Linked DNA regions of Homo sapiens: regions 1, 2, 3, 4, 6 and 7 are each linked to region 5. Evidence: promoter capture Hi-C in 16 types of primary human blood cells and fetal thymus (Javierre and others, 2016). All regions are on one chromosome and are shown on one strand. The core of a region is centred on a gene start or on the middle of the fragment in contact, and the rest is flanking DNA. Distances in the headings are between cores, read along the strand shown.

Evidence for each region. Contacts are between HindIII fragments. The CHiCAGO score rates a contact against its expected background, and 5 or more counts as called.
Region 1: a contact is called between a fragment that was not itself captured here and the fragment with the promoter of MTFR2 in region 5, in 11 of 17 cell types (erythroblasts, fetal thymus, M0 macrophages and 8 more). The highest score is 8.8, in erythroblasts.
Region 2: a contact is called between a fragment that was not itself captured here and the fragment with the promoter of MTFR2 in region 5, in 2 of 17 cell types (endothelial precursors and fetal thymus). The highest score is 6.1, in endothelial precursors.
Region 3: a fragment that was not itself captured here is called in contact with the fragment with the promoter of MTFR2 in region 5 in 1 of 17 cell types (monocytes); the score reaches 5.1 in monocytes.
Region 4: a contact is called between a fragment that was not itself captured here and the fragment with the promoter of MTFR2 in region 5, in 4 of 17 cell types (fetal thymus, naive CD8 T cells, total CD4 T cells and 1 more). The highest score is 7.9, in fetal thymus.
Region 6: a fragment that was not itself captured here is called in contact with the fragment with the promoter of MTFR2 in region 5 in 2 of 17 cell types (naive B cells and total B cells); the score reaches 5.2 in naive B cells.
Region 7: a contact is called between a fragment that was not itself captured here and the fragment with the promoter of MTFR2 in region 5, in 1 of 17 cell types (naive B cells). The highest score is 5.6, in naive B cells.

Annotation. Positions count from the first base shown.
Region 1 is chr6:135,452,905-135,456,148 of GRCh38, forward strand. AHI1 (Abelson helper integration site 1) reads right to left here. Exons shown (of 29, transcript NM_001134831.2): 10 at 2,830-3,022; 11 at 437-532. Among named protein-coding and RNA genes, the nearest start is that of AHI1, 43 kb to the right of the region's middle. The HindIII fragment of the contact is 1,503 bases long and covers 832-2,334 here.
Region 2 is chr6:135,518,498-135,521,553 of GRCh38, forward strand. The region is part of intron 2 of AHI1-DT (AHI1 divergent transcript); the gene reads left to right. Among named protein-coding and RNA genes, the nearest start is that of AHI1-DT, 22 kb to the left of the region's middle. The HindIII fragment of the contact is 4,527 bases long and covers 1-3,056 here.
Region 3 is chr6:135,435,847-135,439,134 of GRCh38, forward strand. It overlaps AHI1 (Abelson helper integration site 1), which reads right to left. Exons shown (of 29, transcript NM_001134831.2): 15 at 2,529-2,652. Among named protein-coding and RNA genes, the nearest start is that of AHI1, 60 kb to the right of the region's middle. RefSeq lists a silencer at 581-781. The HindIII fragment of the contact is 5,381 bases long and covers 1-3,288 here.
Region 4 is chr6:135,487,631-135,490,731 of GRCh38, forward strand. It overlaps AHI1 (Abelson helper integration site 1), which reads right to left. Exons shown (of 29, transcript NM_001134831.2): 5 at 2,993-3,101. Among named protein-coding and RNA genes, the nearest start is that of AHI1, 8.6 kb to the right of the region's middle. The HindIII fragment of the contact is 4,311 bases long and covers 1-3,101 here.
Region 5 is chr6:136,248,743-136,251,568 of GRCh38, forward strand. It overlaps MTFR2 (mitochondrial fission regulator 2), which reads right to left and starts at 1,569. Exons shown (of 8, transcript NM_001099286.3): 1 at 1,234-1,569; 2 at 295-411. The coding sequence starts at 357. RefSeq lists enhancers at 1,019-1,238, 1,889-2,038. The HindIII fragment of the contact is 2,013 bases long and covers 1,190-2,826 here.
Region 6 is chr6:135,670,949-135,674,045 of GRCh38, forward strand. It overlaps AHI1-DT (AHI1 divergent transcript), which reads left to right. Exons shown (of 6, transcript NR_152842.1): 4 at 1,346-1,481. Among named protein-coding and RNA genes, the nearest start is that of LINC02524, 38 kb to the left of the region's middle. The HindIII fragment of the contact is 4,785 bases long and covers 1-3,097 here.
Region 7 is chr6:135,653,131-135,656,405 of GRCh38, forward strand. The region is part of intron 3 of AHI1-DT (AHI1 divergent transcript); the gene reads left to right. Among named protein-coding and RNA genes, the nearest start is that of LINC02524, 20 kb to the left of the region's middle. The HindIII fragment of the contact is 1,187 bases long and covers 1,032-2,218 here.

The DNA.
Region 1 (3,244 bases), core at 333-2,832, 800 kb before region 5:
CCTATACCTCTTTACGATATTTATAAAAATTTATAATTAAATGATAAATTGTGAAATCAATTGTTTTATGTTTGTGTTGCTGGAATATGAAGTCCAGGAGTTCAAGGAATTTGTCATCTTTGTCCACTGACAACAGTAGCTGGCACATAGAAAAGTCTTAATATTTTTTGAACTGAATAAATAATGGCATGGCTGTTTGTGTCTTTTTTAATGCTACATCCTCAGAACCAAATAGTGTAACTGGCACATACTGGGCCATCAATAAATATTTAAGAATCTGAATGAGCATAACCTGAGCTTGAATTAGTAACTCTTCATCCCTACAACATTACCTTAGATTCTAATTCCTTATATGAGACCAAACTGATTTGGGAGAAAGCAGCCAACTAAATTTGAAGACTAGTTTTAAAGTGTTTAAAATGGATGAAAAACATACCTTAAGAAATGCCCAGGCAATTTTCCGAAAGCCACATTCTTGGTTTTGAACCTCAGAATTATTCTTAATTTCATCCACGCTTAAGAAATCAAGAATCTGCAAATAAATTCACAGAAGACTAAGCTACCTAAAATTTAATATTTTCTAATGGTACATTATTAAAACTTTAAAAAATCATTTGTATAGTGCTTAAAAACATTAACCTTTACAGGGAATAAAAACATTTTTATCTCATTTCATTCACCTTAAAGTTAACTCATTCAGTTAGGGAGGGTCCATTTTCTGACTATTTTATCTTTCATTAATAAATACTATGATTTATTTCAAATCCAAAGCAAAGTGTTAATCACCTCAAATATAACCTAGGTACAAATATAATAGGCATAGAATTCTTAAGCTTTCATTGTTTTTTATGTATCACAGCAGACTTTAAAGGATTGTTTGTTTAAAAAACTCACAACCCTATTTCTGGGTCTTTGTCTTGGATCACCTTCCTGAAGTTGGGGTTTTTCTCTTTGGATGTATGTTATAATTAGGCTTCTCAAGAGGATTTCTTCCATTCCTCTATCCTGTCTGGACATTAAAGCTCATGGATTTGCAACCAACCTGCCACAGAGATCGTATTCTAGATATTTATCAAAGGCTATCACTTCAAACTTACTGGTGCTTATTAAAAGCTCAGCTGCGAAAATGAGATTTTTATAGAAAGAAGACTGCTTAAGAAATGATACAGACTCCAATCATCTGTGCTTTTTGGATACCTAAATCTTTTTTACAGATATAATACATGCTCAGTGAAAACATAATATAAAAAATATATAGATCCAAAGTAAAAACAACTTGTAATCCAGACCCATAGATGGTCACCATTAACATCTAGTTTGCAGGCCAAATCTTTTTCTGTGCATTCCTAAACATATGTGTGGAACTACAAATCTAATAATGCTATTTCACAAATTATTTTCATATAGTATGTAGTGAATATCTCTTCATGTCAATACATACACATGAATACCGTAATGTTAATGACTGCCTACTATTCTGTCACAAATACCATAAATTTAACAAAAATTATAACTTATTTAACCAAATCTCTTACTGATCTAAATGTAGGTTATTTTATCTCCCTAAAATTTTTGCTATTATAAACAGTGCTGAAATAAATATCCTTGCACACACATCTTCACGGACTTGTCATTTTTTTCCTTAAGATAAATACCTAAGAGTAAAATAATGGTTTTAAAGACTGTGAGACATTATCAAGTTGTCCTCAACACTTAAAAAACTGAGATCAAAAAGCAGTTGCATAGGCAATAACATATTACATTAAAACTTAAGAAGCAACCAAAAGCGTTTATAATACAACAATCTATCCTTCTTCATCTCTTAATACTAAAATGAATACAGAAGAAAATTGTAACAAATGACAAAGTTTGAAGACAAAAAATTCCTTAAGATACAAATTATATCAATTTTTCAACAATAACAGCTTTATGTAAATCACACACAACATAATCACAAATGTAAATATTGGAATATTTGTATCATAAATACAAATAGACAACCTGAAAGTCAAGGATCATAAAAACAAGTAATTCTACAAAATGAATCTTCGGCACTGGTTATGCCAAGTCCCCTGCTGTTCCCATGCTAAACTTCTCCATCTAGCTTACACTGGAAGGGGGCTTTCTCTATTGTCCTTTGCTTATGGAGACAGAACACATGATAGAGTAAAGAAATGTGGTATTCTAGGTTCAAACTATCTGCAAACGCATTTTTTTTAACTTAAAATTCGAGTAACTTTGGGGAAATCACTTTTATTCCAAACCTTGTTATCATTTTCAGTAAGAAAATTATATAATAACAACTAGTCAGCTCAAAAGCCATGTATTCCATAAAGCTTTCCCTGACTCCACTGACCCGCCACTAACCCTTCACATATAAGTTCTACATCATTTTTGGTTACATATTAAACTGCATTAACTGATCTGTGTACATTTATCTTTATTTATCCAGGTGGTACACATATTCTTAGGGTGCCTGACATGGTTAAATGAGTTTATGCTTTGTGAAATGGGTTTAAAATGGAGAAATGCATTCATATCGAGTGGATTCATCACTTCACTACAGTTAACAGTCACAGAGCTGTTGTAATTATTAAATTATACAAAGTAGGCCAAATGGTTAAATAGTAAACACTCAGCAAATATGCTATCACTGTTTATAAAAGGGCGTCTCACTTGATTCCACAGCATTGGAAAACTAAATCCTAGAGATTAAATTCTCACACAACTTTTTTTTTTGCCTTACTGGACTACTAAAAATAATAGCTTACATTTGTGCTATTAAATATTAACTATCGTTTAATTTGAATTGGTCCATTCAATTCATACCTCAAAGAACAGGATGACTTTAGGACTCTCATCAGAGCCTCGAAGCAAATAGGGAAAATTTTCATTAAATACAATTTGTTCTTCCCACTCTGGAAGTCTTGATTTTAACTGTTTAAAATCATATGGCTGGGTCATAATAGGAAGAATATAATCCACATTCTCTTTTTCATAGTAAGATGAAACAGGCCGTCCACTGTACAAAAAAAGATACTTCCATTAACACAATTTTCATAATTTTGAGGTGAGAAAAAAATATATAGTGTACAAGGTGAGGCAACCAGAAATAATGAATAGTCATAATAATACAAAAGGAAAAATTATTCTGAGTGTCCATCTAGAAACTTACAAATTTTATAAGACTTAAAAGTAACAGTCCATCTTATATTTGTCTACTATCAATTGGTTTCACATGATT
Region 2 (3,056 bases), core at 401-2,900, 730 kb before region 5:
TGTCAATGCCTGACAGATAGATGTTACGAACGTTAACTGTTATATTAATTGCTGTACATTTTATCAACTAGATATCCATTCCATTCTCTCCACAGCCACTCATCATGCCTTACCTGGATGATGCAGAAGTCCCTGGAAACAGAAGGTCTCACCCTTCTTTATCTTTCTCATGGCTTTCCAAGGCTCTTTATCATGTTACTTTCCTGCTCAGAATTCTTTAATGACTTGCCTCAATGACCAGATACATGTGATCTACAGTCAGCCTTCCAGCCTCATCATTCCTCTTCCATTTCCTCCCCAGAAACACTGTACTTTATGAAGCTCCTCCAAGACGTAAGTTTCTCTCATATTTAAAGGAGAGTTATGCCATATGCTCTCATAATCATGCATATTTCCTTGTCCACTTGCCAAAATCCTATTTCTCCTTCAAGTCTCCTTGTAAATACCATTTCTCCTTTGAAGGAGATTCAATTCTCGATTCCCCAGGGTAGACTAGGTATTAATACTTATGCTATGCTCTAATGGCCTTTGAACACACATGCCACAATACATTTATATATACAATGAATGCTGGTATTTTATATCCCTTTTTTATGATAAGCACCTTAAGGACACTGCTGATGGGTATCTGTCTTAGTTGTTTTGTGCTGTTGTAACAGAATATCTGAGACTGGATAATTTATAACAAACAGAAATTTATTTCTCATGGTTCTGGAGGCTGGAAAGTCCAAGGTCAAGGTGACAGCAGGTTTGGTGTCTGGTAAGGACCTGGTCTTCATTTCCAAGATGGCACCTTAAACTCTGTATCCATGCCAGAAGAGCAGAAGAGAGTGAACCCATTCTCCAAAGTCTTTTTTATAGTGGCATTAATTCATTCATGAAGGCAGAGTCCCCATGACCCAAACACCTTCCATTAGGCTCCACCTCCCAACACTGTTGCATTAGGGATTAGGTTTTAATGTGAGTTTTGGAGGGAACAAAAACATTCAAAGCATAGCACTGTCCATCTTTGTATTTTCAGTATTTGTCACAGCACTCTGCACAGAGTAGGCACTAACTAATTACTGTATACCTTAACTGACTTTCATTCTTTCTATACCACTCAGAAAACATCAAAGCCATAGAAACACAAAGCCTCCCTCCCACTAGGTTTTTATTTTAATCAGCAGTTCTCAAAATTTTAAGAAATGGGATTTCTTGGAAAAATTCAAAATATTTTGGGGAGAAACCACAACTGGGTTTGCTAATAAATGCTGATATCTAAGTACTGAGCTAATTCTAACAAAATTAAGATTTGATTAAACTGACCTAGACCAACTGTGAGACTTGGGTGGGATGGCAGAGAATAACAAGAGAGAACAGAAGAAGGTACTCTTGGGCTGACCACTGGTTCAATATTCCTAGGGTGCCCTTGCTGTCCCAGAATAATTATCATGTTCTGGGCTTTGTTCTATGAGTTATAGCTACTCCTTTTTTCCCACTTGTGTTTCTCGCATCTGAATCTCCCTCCTTTAAGCCTTATTTACCCTGTTGATAAAGCTAAACTTCTGTTTTATCTCCAATCTCTTGTAATTTATTTATTTATTTATTTTAGTAATCTCAGACCTCTTATAGAATTGAGCCCCTGTTGTGTTCTTTCTAGCCTCTTTTCTGTAAAACTACAGAAATTCTCCCAATCTTAGCTTAGTTGCCAAGTTCCTGCCTTTAATGGACACACTAACTAGAAAAAGAACTTCAAATTGCCTGCATTGATAATAGCATAGTGGACGTGTGTGTGTGTGTGTGTGTGTGTGTGTGTGTGTGTGTGTTTTCTGCCCAGCATCCCTTTCCTCTAGTTTGGTAAAAATACGTTCATTTTAATATGAAAAATAATCCCCTCACCCTCTTCCATTGCATGTGGTCTTACAGGGGATGTCAGTGAAAGAGCCCTACCCAAGGCATTGACACTTGGCCTAAGCAAGAACAATCCATTATTTCTCTGCAAACTAAATCTGAAATGGTCTTCAACAGTTAAGATGTTAGTGATGGTTAACCATCTTTAGGGAGCTGCCATCACAGTAACCATCACTAACCATCTTAACTGTTTAAGAAATGGGATTTCTTAAATATAGAACCTAGCCCAGAACATGGTAATTAACTGTTTAAGATGGTTAGTGATGGTTAGCGTGTGCTGGCAGCTCTTTAAAGAGACTATTCATTAGTCCTGAATACCAGATTATTGGGGTCGTCCTGTTTCCTGTAGTATTCTACTTAATGCTTGATTGTTTAGCTTTTTATTTAGTTCTGTGAAAGACTCCATACCTTTCCAATAAATTATTTTTTGTGCCCTTAAATTAGATAGGGTTGGTTTACATTTTAAAACCCAAATTGACAAATGTAAATTCCTTGTTGCAGTGCTCTCTCAGCAGCTGGGACCCGGTCTTGGAATCTTAGTGTCAACTATGATGAATCACCAACACTAACAAAAACATTATCTTTTATTGGGTTAAATAGTTTCTACTCTTCCCAAGACTGGGAACTGATGTAACAGGCTTCGTGCTTTCTTCCCAACAAATTGATTCTGTGTGGTCAGCTCCTGTCATGATGATAGAACCCCCTGTATTGATTTATACTTAGGGGTATATCAATGTCAGTCTAAACTTGTCCTACCTACTTCTACTGCCTGATGAATCTTTTTATTTTAATCTTTACTAAGGTAAAACTTACATATTACAAGAGTCACCAATTCTAAGTGTATAGTTCAATGATTTTTAGTACGTTTATACATTACATAACCATCACCCCAATCCAGTCTTAGATTGCATGCCCAATCTTGTTGTGTGTATTTTCCATGGCCATTGATGGATCCTAGTATCATGTACTGCACGGGCTATACCAATATCAGGCCCAAGATGTGTAGCAGTCAATCCTGGAGGTCTTGTGGTGCCCTTAAATATAATGTAAGGGGAGAGTGTCAGTGTGGTGGATTCAGGGGCAATTACTATGCTATTGAAGAAGCACTGCCAAGGGCCAAATAGAAAAGACACTGGGCTCAAATAATAAAAATCAGCAAGGCA
Region 3 (3,288 bases), core at 200-2,699, 810 kb before region 5:
TTTTAGGAGGGAGAATTGGCAGACTTTAGTGCTAGTTAGATGTGAAAGAAATGATGGGAAAGAAAGAAGAGATGAACACCACTCTGAGTTTTCAGCTTGGGAGATGGTGGATAAGGATGCCATTAAAATATATGTAAGAGAATTAAAAGAGGAAAACAAAATTTAAGGAGGTGGGTAAGTTTGGTTTTGGATTTGAGGTGGCAATGGGCCATTCAAATGGAAACGTGTAATAGGAAGTCAAATTCATAAAAAAGGTGTGCGCTAGAAGTCATTAGCATATCAGCAAGAGTCAAAGCTGGGAAAGGTAAGAGAAACTAGGATAAGCATATAAAACCAGGAGATGATCAGCTAAAGGATCCTGGGGATAAAACATATAGACGATCGGCAGAGGAAAATAAATCAGAGAAAGACAATGGATAGAACTGGTCAGAGTAATAAAAAGAGAAGAGAAGAGGTTGTCAATGAAAACTATGAATTCAAAATATTTCAAGACTGGTCAATAATCAATTACTACAGTGAAGGCAAGCAGAGCAGGAGTTAAACTGTCCAAATGGATTTAAAAATAGCAAGAAACTGCCAACCTCTGAAGAAAGAAGTTTATGTAGCATGGTGGGAAAGAAAGCCAGAATAACTGGGCTGAAGTAAAGACAGTATGTGTAGAATACTCCTGATGGTGTAGAAAAAGAAAAATAATGGGCTAGTCTAGAAGGCAGGAAGAACTGAAAATGATGTTTTTAAGATAAGGCAATTTGAGCATATTTCTTTTTTCTTTTTGAGGCAGAGTCTCAATCTGTCACCCAGGCTGGAGTGCAATGGCGCAATCTCGGCTCACTGCAACCTCCACCTCCCAGTTCAAGTGATTCTCTTGCCTCAGCCTCTGAAGTAGCTGGGACTACAGATGCAGACCACCACACCCGGCTTATTTTTGTATTTTTAATAGAGACAGGGTTTCGCCATGTTGGCCAGGCTGATCTCGAACTCCTGACCTCCAGTGATCTGCCCACCTCGGCTTCCCAAAGTGCTGGGATTACAGGCATAAGCCACTGCGCCCGGCCCATTTGAGCATATTTCTAAGATGAGAGGACACAATCAATAGAGAGAAAGATATTAATCAGACTAGTAGATGTAATACAAATTTTCAGGGACTGAGATGAAAAGTACAGGTCAAATAGCCTTTAAAACGTCAGTCACGTGCCTCTTTGTTAAAAGAGATGGACAGAGATTAAAAATGGACATATCTATGGATATTAGGAGGGAAATCAGAGGGAAATATACGAAGATCATGTCTGACTAAATTTCATCTAAATTGAAGATAGTCATCTAATGAAGTGGGAAGACTGTGATTTACTGTAGAGAATGTTCATGGTAAGTTTGGATCTGCTGCCAGAGGAAAAAGAAAAGGAAGCTGAGTAAAGTAAAAGGATTCCTCAGCAGAGATGACAGCTTAGGTGACATTAAGACTTACAAATCCAAAGTCACCCCTCAGCAAAGTTACATATTTTTCTCTAGTATGGCCTGGCATTGGACAGAATGGCTGTGCTAAAAGAACAGATCAGATAGTTTCTTGAGGATATTGTCAAAAAGGAGTAATAGTAGGTTCCCAGCATGACCAAGAAGGAAGTCAATTGTTACTAATTCTCATCTTTTTCATTTAAATAAAAACTAACCAATAATGGTAACATCTTGATTAGATATTTTATACAGAAAAGGAGGTTGGCAAGATCAGTAGAAGAAGTGGTCTGAACACTAAAAGTAACACGAAGTGTTAAGAGAGTAGAAGGCAGAAGTAAATGACAATGAATTCAGCATGGATCTCAACTGTTTACATGTCAGTTTCGTAGTGTGTGGAGAGAATAATGTCTTACCTAATAGCTGTAAGAATCAAATTAAGTGATGTATCTAAAAGCACCCTGAAAACTAACAGTATTTTTAGAACACATTCAAGGTAGAACAAGCAACTAAAAAAAGTATAAATGAAACTTTTAAAGTTAGCTTTTAAAATGTTTTATTGTGATACTTATTAAATTGAAAAGGGATAAATTATTTTTAAGATTGACATTCTGAAAAATGTAAATGTTTAACCAATCTATAAAACTGTTAAAATATAAGGTACATATTTGTTTCCTCTACTGTGATATACTGAGCACCACTGGATTCTACCCTCTGCAAATCCAGCCAATAGTGAAGACAGTATCCCTGCCACCAAGAGCTTATGCTCTAGGAAAAAATCTCAAGTGTTTAATAACCCCTAACCCCATCTCAAAGCATTAATCAGTTTACATAATGATCATTTAAAGATGGTGAGGACTAGAAATATTATATGCTACATAAATAAAAGACATTTAAGAAAAATGTCTTTAAAAAGTGTTACTATAATTTATGGAATCAGTCTGCATGATGCATATTTATGACAGTCCCTTCTTGGGAAAATACGACTGGAGCATAAGAGTAGTTACATCAGTTTATATTCTCTTTGCTTTCCTTGACAGCAAACAGCATGCACATAAGTACTTCTCAAGGATACTAACCTGGCAGTGCCATCAGATGATGAAGTAAGGATGTAGTGATCATCTTTTGACCAGGAAAGATCATAAATGATATTGAGGTGGCCACACAATTCTCTCATGAAACGTCCAGAAGGAATTTCATATACTAATGAAAATATTTAGAAATTAGGTTTCCAGACAGAAGATCCTTAATCCAATAATATACAAATATATAATTTAATATTATTTAGACATAAGCAGTCTATAACAAAATTATAACCAAAGACATTTGCAGCACAGAGAAAATTTCAAAATTTACTTAAGAATAGTTTTTCTTTTGCTTTACACAAAAATTCACATGCAAAATTTTCAGTTATAATTTTGCTACAATTATCAATTATTTTCATCTCTTTAAAGAAATCCCCTAAGAATCTTTAATAATAAATTTATATCAGTTGAATAATAACATTTACATTGCAATTCACTTATATTCTATAATTTAGGCTTTCATTATTATTTCACCTGAAAATCAACTAAATGCCAACCAAAAATTTAATTATTTGAAGTAAGGAGAAATTTAAATTGTGCTATTGTCAAAAGTAAATTTTAATACTAAAATGAACAGGGATAGTAATCAGGGATAGTATGGGAATTAACAATGACTCAATCAGACACACAAAGCACTGTGGTATTTTACTATATGTTTAAACATACAATGAAATCTAAGATAGTAACACGGAAAAACAAAGTTTCCAAGTCTCTGCTTCCATCTAGTGGTAAAAATCAATTGCCCTTTAAAATA
Region 4 (3,101 bases), core at 387-2,886, 760 kb before region 5:
ATCTGAGATACCCATTACTCCAAGCATTTATCTTTTATGTTGGGAACATAAATCTTCTCTTCTGGCTATTTTGAAATATACAATAAATTATTAACTGTAATTTCCCTACTGTAATACTGACTACTAGAACTTATTCCTTCTAACTATATTTTTGTACTCCTTAACCAACTTCTCTTCATCCCTTCCTCTAAGATCTTAAGATGTTCTATTCTTAAATTCTTAACTTTGATTCATATCTAGAAATGGTACTACATCTTTAATAAATCTTAAATCTTTTTTTTTTTCCAGGGAGGGAACACTGATATTTCTCTAATAATGCACATATGTTTACAACTACCATCACAAATGACTGACAACTTAGGTGACCAGATTCCTCAGGCTACAATTTTTCTCTTAGTGCTCTAAATATTTCTCCATTGTCTTTTGGATTTAGTGTTTTTACAGAGAAGTCTCAAATGTACTATATGTTTTTGTGTTTAGGTGTCTGCAATATTTGACTCTTAAGATACAAACAAAAGAATTTTCTAGATATAGTTCTCATCTCATAAATTTTGCCTGGAATGCAGGATGACTCATCTCTTCAGAAATCTCAGCAAGGTTTCTTCATCATGCTCATTATTGTTTCTGCTCCACTAGTACTGTCCCGGGATACTTATTTGTGGGTCAAATATCTTTCTATGTCCTCATCATTTATTTCTTTCATTTTAGTTTTGGTCATTTCTTCCCACCTCGAATTTGTCTCCCACTTCACTGATTAGATTTTTCCGTAGTGTCAATTCCATCATTTTAGGCCTGAGATATAGTTTTAAGGAAGCAACTGAAGAACATGAACTTTAAAATTGCAGAGACTGTGGTCTTAAATCCCACTTATCCTATTTTAGACTAAATGACCTAAGGAAATCACCTAACATGTCTGTTTGTCTGTTTATAAAATTTCTCATGTGCAAAAAAAGAATCCCAATATCTATCTTGCATGATTAACATGAGATTTAGAAATAATATTTGTAAAACTCTTATTATTGTGCCTTATATATAACTGGAATATAAGATGAACCTGCCATTATTATGAATCCCTATTTTGACTTTTTTCCTCGCTTAATTTTATTTCAGACTGCTCCATTTCTCATCTCAGCCTGTTCTGTACATAGGACTCCCTGTTCTTCTTTCAAGAAGAAGTCCTATCTTTTCAAATTTCATTAAAATAGATAATATTGGGTTGTGGTTAAGGCAGTGGATTCTGCACTTCCACTCAGTGTTTGAATCCTGGTTCTACCATTTACTATGTAACTTTCAGCAAGTTACTTAACTTCTGATGTAGTTTTCTCCTGTACAGAAATAAAACCCTGTAATTTCGTCGTTTGTATTAAACGACTAAATATATATAAAGTGTTTAGAAGAGTGCCTAAAGATAGAAAGCATTAAGGCATCTAGCAAATGAAAGCAGCTATTCCTCTTTTACTTCCTCAAGTTAATCATGTCAAAAATATTTTGTTCTCCTCTAAGTCCTTTAGAAATATTCCTGTTCTTTTGAGCTGCGAAATATCTTCCCAAATATTTGTTCCTAGTGTACTTATTTCTGAAAGAAAAGAAGCCTATTCAGTCCTGGTGTTTGCAAAGAGAGGCTGGATAAATTATGCTTAGTCACCTCACACTTATGTGCCCCTCAACATTTAAACTGGACCTTAGGTAAATGGACATAGCCTCTGCCTATTCTGATTATCCATTTAATTTAAACCTTGGTCTAAATTGCATTTTGTTCATGGCTCACAACTCCCAGTTCTTTAATACTAAGAGACAATATGAGGTTCTTCTCTGAGCATAAAACATCTCTGCAGACAACTGTTTCCAGGGTTCTTTTTGCTTTTGCCCAACATAAACCACTCCATCTGAGGGGAGCGCATATATCAATAAGCAATGTTTCATCCTCCATGTCACTATTCCCTACCATATTGTGCACTAGTACCACCAGAAAAAGCACATGCTATTTCAGAGCAGCAATCACTATGGGAGTGCTAATCTGTCCATTCTGTCAGTAGTTCGAAATTTTTGTGCAGTCGTACACCAGTGTATACACTATGAACCCTCACATATGTGCAGCTGGATTTTGGTCAATTTTACTACTTGTTTTTGCCTCACTTCAGAATTTATATTGTTACATTGACATCTGCCAGACAGAATACTAAAATGAACAGGTCTTAAGAAAAAATGGGGTAAATCTTACTACAAGCAAAATGTAGGATTATAACTCATTATAAAACTCCTGCCAAAAAAAAAAAAAAAACTATGTACCATTTACACAAGAGCCTGTTTATTTTTTTCTGTGAGGACAGAAGAGATAATGGTCAAAGTAGTAAAAAGTGCAACTCAAGTAGGGAGATAGGTATAAAGAGGGCATAGAGCATTAACTGTGGATGCCAATACAGACTCTTTATGATTCCAAGGGGATCAGGTTGTAGTTAGTTGCTGATTTGCTTAGTCTTTGAGCACTGTATTTTTAATTCCTTCAAGTGTGCTGCCAAAGATTCTATCATTTGAAAGTGTGCCTCAAACATAAAAGGATAATTATTACCATACGGCCATTGATTTCTCCTGGTTCTGTTGGGTAGAATCACACAGAAATAGTTTAAATAAGCACAAGCTATTCAATATCTGAAGTTAAGATACTACTTCCTAAGTTCTTCACAATTCTGGGTTAAAAATATTTTCTTCAAAAATGTTATCATGGCTAGTTTTGAGTTTCCCCACTATCTCTGGTCATTTTCCCCACTGTGTGTGTGTTCTTCCTGTAGGACAGCACTCAAGAATGAAGTCAATATTCTCACAGTGATGTTGATTCTAATATAAACTTTATTTTTACCACATGTTATTGACCATGACATAGTGTTACTGTTTTTAATTTTCAAAATTCCTTAGAATTTTAACATAAAATGCAGCCATATCTGCATTTTATGCGCATATGTAAATCACTATTACCCAATGATCATTTACTTACTGAGATGTTTTCTTCAGACCTGACAAGTTTTTTCTTCAGTTTTTTCTTTTCACGCATTAGATCACTGTGGGTCTTAAGCAATTCTTCAAAGCGAACTTTGGTTTTTACT
Region 5 (2,826 bases), core at 319-2,818:
ATAGAAGTTTTAATGTATCTGTGCAATAAATGTAATTCTGTGAAGCTCATGTCTATATTTTGCTTCCTTTGTATCTTCTGTTGGCATTTGTCCTATCAGGTAAATATGTTCTCAATAATCTTATCCCTCTTCTAACTCAAATCATCAAAGCTATACTATTACAAACTCACCTTTGTTCCAACTAAAAAGAAGCAACAACTTTGCCTTAAATCAAATGATTACATATAAGTCATTTTCAAAATGAAACCCAAGAACAAATACAACAGATCCATTCCAATCCAAAACGACATTTACCTGTTCTACAGGAACGCCAAAATATTCCAGCATCTCTCTTAAGATATTCAGTATGAGAGACATTGATGAAGCAAATACAGAAGCCAATTCAAAGGAACATTATCAGTTTCTTGGTGCCTTTGGGGAAAATTTTAGAAAATGTTACTCTTGACAAATAAATGCCAAATTGTACTACATAACCTGGAAAAGTCCTCTTGATACACGACACAGTCAACTAATTTCTCCTAGCCAGCATTCTTTTAAGTCAGAGAAAAAGAAAGGAAGGGGAAGTCTGGGGGAAAGAGAGGGTTGTAAAGGAAATTTCAATTAATTGGTTAGATTACATTAAAACCTCGTAGGATGTTTGAGCCTAGTTAATAGAGACCAATCAACAAACTGGACATCTACTTAGTAGGCAAGGCTTCAAGTTACATGCCACAGCGAAGCTCGCTCTTTCCTGAAAGCTTTGGGCTGAGACTCTTAGCAGATGGGTGAGTTTAGCCAACCCTTGAAAGCAGGCAAGGGACGACTCAGTTTTTAAAAAAATAAACAGTAGCTCTTCTCACACACATATCCTCACGTGTCAAGGGTGGGGCCAGGTGAAGATAACTGAATCATGGGGGCAGCTTCCCCCATACTATGCTCGTGGTAGTGAATAAGTCTCATGAGATGTGATGGTTTTATCAACAGGAGTTCCCCTGCACAAGCCCTCTTGCCTGCCACCATGTAAAATGTGACTTTGCTACTCATTTGCCTTCAGCAATGATTGTGAGGCCTCCCCAGCCATGTGGAATGCCCATCCCTCCTCACTCTTTTAAAATGAGAAGCATGAATTCCAGATACGGGACGTGACTTGGTCACCCATCTAGTAACAGGCCGTGACCAGAGCCGGATCGCGTCCCTCGCTTTGGTCACAAGCTTCCTGGTGCTCTCCAAACACAGCGTGGTAGCCTTGCTCACCTTCCTCCGAAGCCGAGCCCCCGGGAATCACCAGAACATCAAGCGGAGGGCGTTAGGAATCCTCAATCAAATTCCAGACTGCGCCACTCCTTGTGCAGATCGCTCAGACGTCTACCCAGACCTCGACCCAGTTTCCACCCGCGCGCCTCGGCTTGCAGCCACAGGCGGTAACGATGCCCTCAGCGAGGAATAAGAGGTCAACCCGGTGCCCAGCCCTGGAGCCTCACGCTCAGCCAGGGTAATGTTATGGGAAGCGCGCCCCCGTCCTCCTGCGCCCAACCAACCCACCTGCTAGTCCCTAGGACCGGACTGCTACTTCCGCATGACAGGACTGCTACTTCCGCATCCCAGGACGAAATCAAACTCCGCGGGCCAGGACCCGTAACCAGCCTCATTGGGCAAAACTGAAGATCGCTGCTTCTGATTGGTCATTGCATGATGTCAGGCAATTCGGGAAGCGACTGCTTTTCCTTCTCAAGAGGCGGGTCTTCCGAGAGTCAGCCAATAGGAGCTGACGGGCAGGGCAGGTCGCGTTAGGACAGCGTCGCTCCCGCAGGGCAAGGTTTTAGGTACAAACTCGTGAGCTGGACTCGCAGTCCGGAGTTCGTACCCCACAGAACTCTTCGCAGGGAGTGTCTTACTCGCTACAGCCGGACCCTAAGCGCATCCGCCTTCCCAAGTTCATCTGACACAAAATCGCGATTTATTTTTTGGTCATTTCATTTGTTCAGCTAATATTAAAATACTTGTGGAACTGGCAGAAGCCAAGCACTACCCCCGAGGGTTTTGCAGCTTTGCAGTGGCTAGGATTCATTCTTTCGTTCACTAAATACACCTACGTATCCAGGCTACCGAATATTGGGCCGGACACTCTCCTGGCTTAGCCGAGGATGGCAAGTGATATGACAGGTGATATCCCAGTTTTCATTTCTGATTTGAGGTTATTGGCTTCATACGAAATAGCTTCCTCTTCTGAATTTCAGCAAGACGTGCACTGGAGTGATATAACAATTTAAGATGTGTGCCTGCTACTGACATAATTTGAAAATCTAAGTTTTGAACTAATTTATCTATGGTCAACATCACTTATTCATTCAACCAATAATAGATATCTACTACGTAGCAGACACCATTCTAAGCACGGAAAATACCTTAATGAGAGGGCAGGTCCTCGTCCTCCTGGAGCTTACAGGCCAGCGGGGCATCTCGTTCCATTCTAACCCTAATTTGCTTTTCTCTATAGCACTTATCATATATATTTAGTTACGCTTCCACTACCACCAAACAAAATTGTAGACTCCAGGAGAACAGGAAGTTGTTTTGATCCATGCTCTATCTTTCCCCAGTGCTTTAGAAGAGTGTCTGGTATATAATAGGCATTCAGTCTATTTGTTGAATAAAATACCTAAATGTGGAATGACAGAAAAGATGATAATGATTTGGGACTAAGCAACTAGCAAAACAATTGATAGCAATAATAGTGATATGCCCAGTAGAGCTGGATACGGCTGAGTGAGCGCAGAACAAGGATGATGATGGATCAGAAACCCTAGATGGAGTAATTTTCTCAAGTTCCTTGTCCTTCCCTTTGCC
Region 6 (3,097 bases), core at 267-2,766, 580 kb before region 5:
AAAGGAAACAATCAACGGAGTGAAAAGGCAATTGATGAAATGAAAGAAATATCCATGAACCATCTATCTGATAAAGGACTAATCTCCAAAATATATAAGGAACTTCTATAATTCAATAGCAAAAAAACCACATGACCTGATTTAAAAATGAGCTAAGGTTTTGAATAGACATTTCTCCAAAGAAGATACAAATGGCCAACAAATATAAGAAAAAATGCTCAATGTTACAAATCATTTGGAAAATGCAAATAAAAACCACCATGAGATTTTACTTCACACCTGTCCAGATGGATATCATCAAAAAAAAAAAAAGGACAAAATGTACTGATGAGGATGTGGAGAAATAGGAACGCTGGCACACTGTTGGTGGAAATGCAAAATAGTGAAGCTGCTACAGAAAATACTATGAAGATTCCTCAAAAAATTAAAAATAGAACTTCCATATATATGATTCAGCTATTCCACTTCTGGATATTTATCAAAAGAGTTGAAACCAGGATCTTAAAGAGATATCAGCAGCACTATTCGCAATAGTCAAGATGCAGAAATAACCTAAATGTCCATTGACAGATGAATAGATACAGAATATGCGATATATACATTGAAATATTATCAGCCTTAAAAAGGAAGGACATTCTATAATATGCAATGACATGATGAACCTGGAGGACATCAAGCTAAGTGAAATAAGCCAGTCACAGAAAGACCAATACTGCATTATTCCACTTATATGAAGTATCCAAAATAGTCAGATTCATAGAATCAAAGAATGAAATGGTGTTTGCCAGGGAATAGCAGGAGGGGGGAATAGAGAGTTATGAATCAACAGGCATAAGGCTCCAGTCAAGCAAGATGAATGAGCTCTAGAGATTTGCTGTACAACATTGTACCTAGAGTCAACAATACTGTATTGTCTGTTTAAAATTTGTTAAGCAGTAAGTCTCATGTTAAGTGTTTTTACCACAATAAAATAAAATAGTAAAATAAAATGTACCTGAGATGAGACTTGCAGTCCTGTGTGAGGGACAGGAGTTTGCCCACAGAGGAGAGTGAAGATGGAGAGAATGTTACAGACAGGCCACAGCCTGCTTTGGGACCTAGAAGTGAGTAAACAGGCTCCCTACAGGATGTGCAGACAGCTGGGCCTGGGGAGAGAGTGCCGGGGATGCTCTGAGGGCCACTGGGAGGTGAGGCTGTAAGGCAAGTTGTGGCAGACCATCACAAGCCCTTCATAGACCTGCAAGAGACTTCCAGGTTTATGGTTTGCCTAACATGAGGGGCTACTGAAGAGTTTTGTGCAAGACATGTGATGAAGTATTTGTGACATGATAAAATGTCGTTTCAGCCATCTTAAAACCACTCAAAGTTGACGGTCTCCTCTCCTGCCTCCTGCGGCTTCCATTACCATGGCAGAGACTGTGGTGTCTGAGGTGGTGTAGCGTACTGAAGCAAGGCTGTCTTGAAGAAGAGGAGACAACTCAGTAAGTATGTTAGTCAGCATAAGCTAGGTTATGATGCAGTAACAAACAATGCTTACATTTCAGTGGCTTAGCACAACAGGAGGGTATCTCTCACTCTTTCTGGATGCCCTACAGAAGACAGCGGGAGGTGGGGTGGGTCTGTTCCACAGTGTCACTCATGGACCAGACTCTGCCATCTTTTGACTGCACTATCTCCAACACACGACCTTTTTAGTCACCACATCAGGGGAGAGACAACTGCAAGGGTTTGCAGTGGCTCCTTTATGCTTCACAATGGAAGTAACACATGCCATTTCTTTTTGTAGTCACAGCCAATTCCGTAGCTTTGCCTAACCACAGGAGGCTGGAAGACGGGGTGGGGGGGAAGCAGATGGGTGCTTGCTGAGCACTGCAGTCTCTGCCATGGTAATTTCAGGTAGCTAGATGGAAGCCACAGGAGGCAGGAGAGGAGACCATCAGCTTTGAGTGGTTTTAAGATGGCAGAAACATCAGGCCACAGAGACTGAGGCAATTTGGTGGGGGTGAGAGAGGAGTGGCATAGGGTGATTGCTGGGTACTCACTGGTGGCAGCATACTCAGTGAGCAAAACTGGCAGAGAGTAGGTGTAGGGTAGAGATAAGGCTCATCTTGACCAGCACTGCTATCTGCGAAGCCTAATTAAACATGTCCACGGCCGGTCGCGGTGGCTTCATGCCTGTAATCCCAGCACTTTAGGAGGCCAAGGCAGGCGGATCATGAGGTCAGGAGATCTAGACTATCCTGGCTAACACAGTAAAACCCCGTCTGTATTAAAATTAAAAAATTAGCCAGGCGTGGTGGCATATGCATGTAGTCCCAGCTACTTGGGAGGCTGAGGCAGGAGAATCACTTGAACCCAGGAGGCGGAGGTTGCAGTGAGCTGAGATCATGCCGCTGCACTCCAGCCTGGGCGACAGAGCGAGGCTCTGTCTCGAAAACAAAACAAACCAAAACAAAACCACAACAACAGCAACAACAAAAACCCCAAAAACATGTCCACTAGGAACTGCAAGTCAGGAGTGCAAAATAGAGTCAGGCCTAGCTATTGATATTTGGACATCATCACCCAGTTATAGGCAGAGGTTGAAAACATGTAGGTGAATGAGTCTCCCAAAGGAGAGAATGTATAATAAGATTAGGTGAGAGTTTAAAAAGTTGAATTGCTCGTGCAGTCTGGATCCAGAGTCATCGCACCCAGATGGATTCAAGAAATGGAGGGTCAGAAGGTCAGCTTCCACAAGTCTATAATTAACTGGGTTTTGATGTATGCTTGCAGAGGCTAGAGACACACTGAGAGATTTATCGAGTGCAATATTTGTTTGACATCCAAAGAAATAAGACAAGCCTTCTTATGAACTCTTGGCAGAGATTTACTTTAGATAGCGAAGAACAGCTTGACACTACAGATTATTAGACACCACAAGAGTTTATTAAATAAAATGGGTGGAAGCATTGATTCTACATCTTAAATATATCTCTTTGGTCCAGGGGTTGTCAAACTGTGTTTCTTAGGGGGGTCTCAGGGGCTGCTGCAGGATGCCAGGAGCTGGTGCAGAGCAGAGTGACTCACGTCTTCCACCTCTCCCTCCATCAGCTCT
Region 7 (3,275 bases), core at 375-2,874, 600 kb before region 5:
CTGTGGATAAGGGGAAACTACTGTAGTATTGAATGCATATATTAGGAAAGCAGAAAGATCTAAAATCAATCATGCAAGCTTTTACCATAGAAAACTAGAGAAAGGGCAAATTAATCCAAAGTAAGCACAAGAAACAATAAATATTAGAGTAGAAATTAAAGAAATTGAAATAGGAAATCAATAGGGAAAATTTTTGAAACCAAAAGCTGGGTCTTTGAAAAGATAACAAAACTGATAAGCTTCTAGCCAGGCTAGGAAAAAGAAGGGCACAAATTACTACTTTTGGAAGGAGGAGATTTCACTTCAGAGCCCATGGACATTGGAAGGATAATAAAGGAATACTATGAATAATTCTGTGCCCACAAATTTGATAACCTAGGGGAAATAGATGAATTTCTTGAAAAATAAAATCTGATAAAACTCACACAAGAAGAAATAGACAATCCAGATAGGCCTAGATCTATTAAAGGAATGGAATTAATAATTAATAACCTTCCAAAACAGAAACCATGAGACCCTGATCAGTTCACTAGTAAATTCTACCAAATACTTAAGGAACAAATTATATCAATTCTCTACAGTCTTTTCTAAAATATAGAGGCATATGGAATATTTACTAACTCATTCTATGAGGCCAGCTTCACCATAATGTCAAAATCAGACAAAAACATTATGAGAAAAGATCAATATTTCTTATGAATATAGACACAAAAGTCCTCAACAAAATATTAGCAGACTGAATCAAGCAATGTATAAAAATAATTATATTCCATGACTAAGTGGGATTTATCCCAGGTATGCAAGGTTGGCTCAAATTTGAAAATCAATTACTGCAATCCATCACATCTACAGACTAAGGAAGAAAAATGACATGGTTATATCAAGAGATGCAGAAAAAGCATTTGTCAAAATACAACACCTATTTGTAATAAAAACTCAGCTAGAATTTTAGAGGGGAACTCCCTCATCCTGATAAAGAACATCTACAAAACCCCTACAACTAACATAAGACTTAATGGCAAGAAACTAAAAGCTTTTCTACTCAGATCAGGAACAAGACAAGGATGTTCCTTCTCACCACTTCTTACATTTTACTGGAAATCCTAGCTAACACAATAAGACATGAAAAGGAAATAAAAGATATATTGATCGAGAAGAAATAAATAAAACAGTCTTTGTTCATGGATAATATGATTGTCGAGGTAAAAAATCTGAAGAAATCAACAAAACAATTCCTGGAACTGATATGTGATTATAGCAAGATTGCAGGATACAAGGTTAATGTACAAAATTTAATGTCTTTTCCATATGCCAGAAATGAAAAAGTGGAATTTGAAATTAAAGACAAAAATCCTTTCAGATTAGTGCATCCCCAAAATGAAATAGTTAAGTACACATCCAACAAAATATGTACAAGATCTATATGAAAAAAAACTACATAACTCTGATGGAAAAAAAAATCAAGGAACTAAATAAATGGAGAGAAGGCCAGGTGTGATGTCTCACATCTGTAATCCCAGCACTTTGGGAGGCTGAGGCAGGTGCATCACATGATGTCAGGAGTTCAAGGCCAACATGACCAACATGGCGAAACCCCGTCTCTACTGAAAATACAAAAATTAGCTGGGCATGGTGGTGTGCACCTGTAATCCAAGCTACTCGGGAGGCTGAGACACGAGAATAGCTTGAACCCGGGAGGTGGAGGTTGCAGTGAGTCGAGATCGCACCATTGCACTCCAGCCTGGGTGACAGAGCGAGACTCCATCAAAAAAAAAAAAAAAAGAGATAAATTAAGAGATATTTCATGTCCATGCAAGGAAGAGTCAATATTGTTAAGATGTCATTTCCTCCCACATTGATCTACAGATTCAATGAAATTCCAATTAAAATCCTGACAAGTTATTTTGCAGGTATCAACAAACAGATTCCAAAGTTTCTGTGGAGAGGCAAATAACCTGAAATAGACAACAAAATATTGAGTGAAGTTGGAGTACTGACATTATTCAACTAGGTTACAAATGAAATGGGAAAACAGTTTCATAGTTGGCTTTGTTCTATAGTTTACATTAGGGTTAACTCTAAGTGTTGTACATTCTGTGGGTTTTGGAAAATGCATAATATGCTGTTTTGGTGAAACCAAAAGCAGTAAGTGAGCAATATATGCCTTAGCAATCTATCTTTATTAATTCACATATTTAGAGCTGACTTATTCATATAAAGCTTTGCTTCTTATAAGAAATAACTGGCTTTCTCTTTAAAATAAGCTGAAGCTGTGTGAGATTGTATAAAACATTATATATTGACTAATAGGGAAAAACTTTCTTGTGTATACAGGATTTTGTAATTAAGGTTGAAAATGTAATCTTTAAACCTGAAAGGCTTAAAAAAATTTTTAGCCCCCACATGTAAAGTGAAAATGTGATGTTTGTCTTTCTGTGCCTGCTTTATTTCATTCAGCATGAGTTCCATCATGCTCATTCATGCTGCCTCAAATGACAAGATTTTATTATTTTTATGCCTAAATATTATTCAATTGTGTATATATACCACATTTTCTTTATCCATTCATCCTTTGATAGACAGTTAGGATGATTTTATATCTTGGCTATTGTGAATAGTGCTCCAATAAACATGAGAGTGCAAATATTTCTTTGACATACTGATTTCATTTCCTTTGGACACATACCCAGTAGTGGGGTTGCTTGATCATATGGTATTTCTATTTGGAGTTTTTTGAGGAAACATCACACTGTTTTTTATAATGGCTGTACTAATTTGCATTCTTATCAACAGTGTAAGAGTTCCCTTTTCTTTGCATCCCACTTGCGTTTGTTATTATTTGTCTTTTTCATATGAATAATAGCCATTTTAACTGGGGTGAGATAATATCTTATTGTGGTTTTGATAGGCATTTTCCTTATGATTAGTGATGTTGATCGTTTTTTATTATACCTGTTGGCCATTTGTATGTCTTCTTTTGAGAAATGTTCATCCAGGTCCTTTGCCCACTTTTTGATCAGGTCATTTGTTTTCTTGCTACTGAGTTGAGTTCCTTAAATATTTTAGATATCAACCCCATATCAGACATATAGTTTGATAATATTTTCTCCCATTCTATAGATTGTCTCTTTATTCTGTTGATTGTTTCCTTCTCCGTGCAGAAAATTTTTAGTTTGGTATAATCCCGTTTGTCTATTTTTGCTTCTGTTGCCTGTGCTTTTGAGGTCTTACCCAAGAAATGCTTGCCCAGACCAATGTCCTGAAGCCTTTCCCCA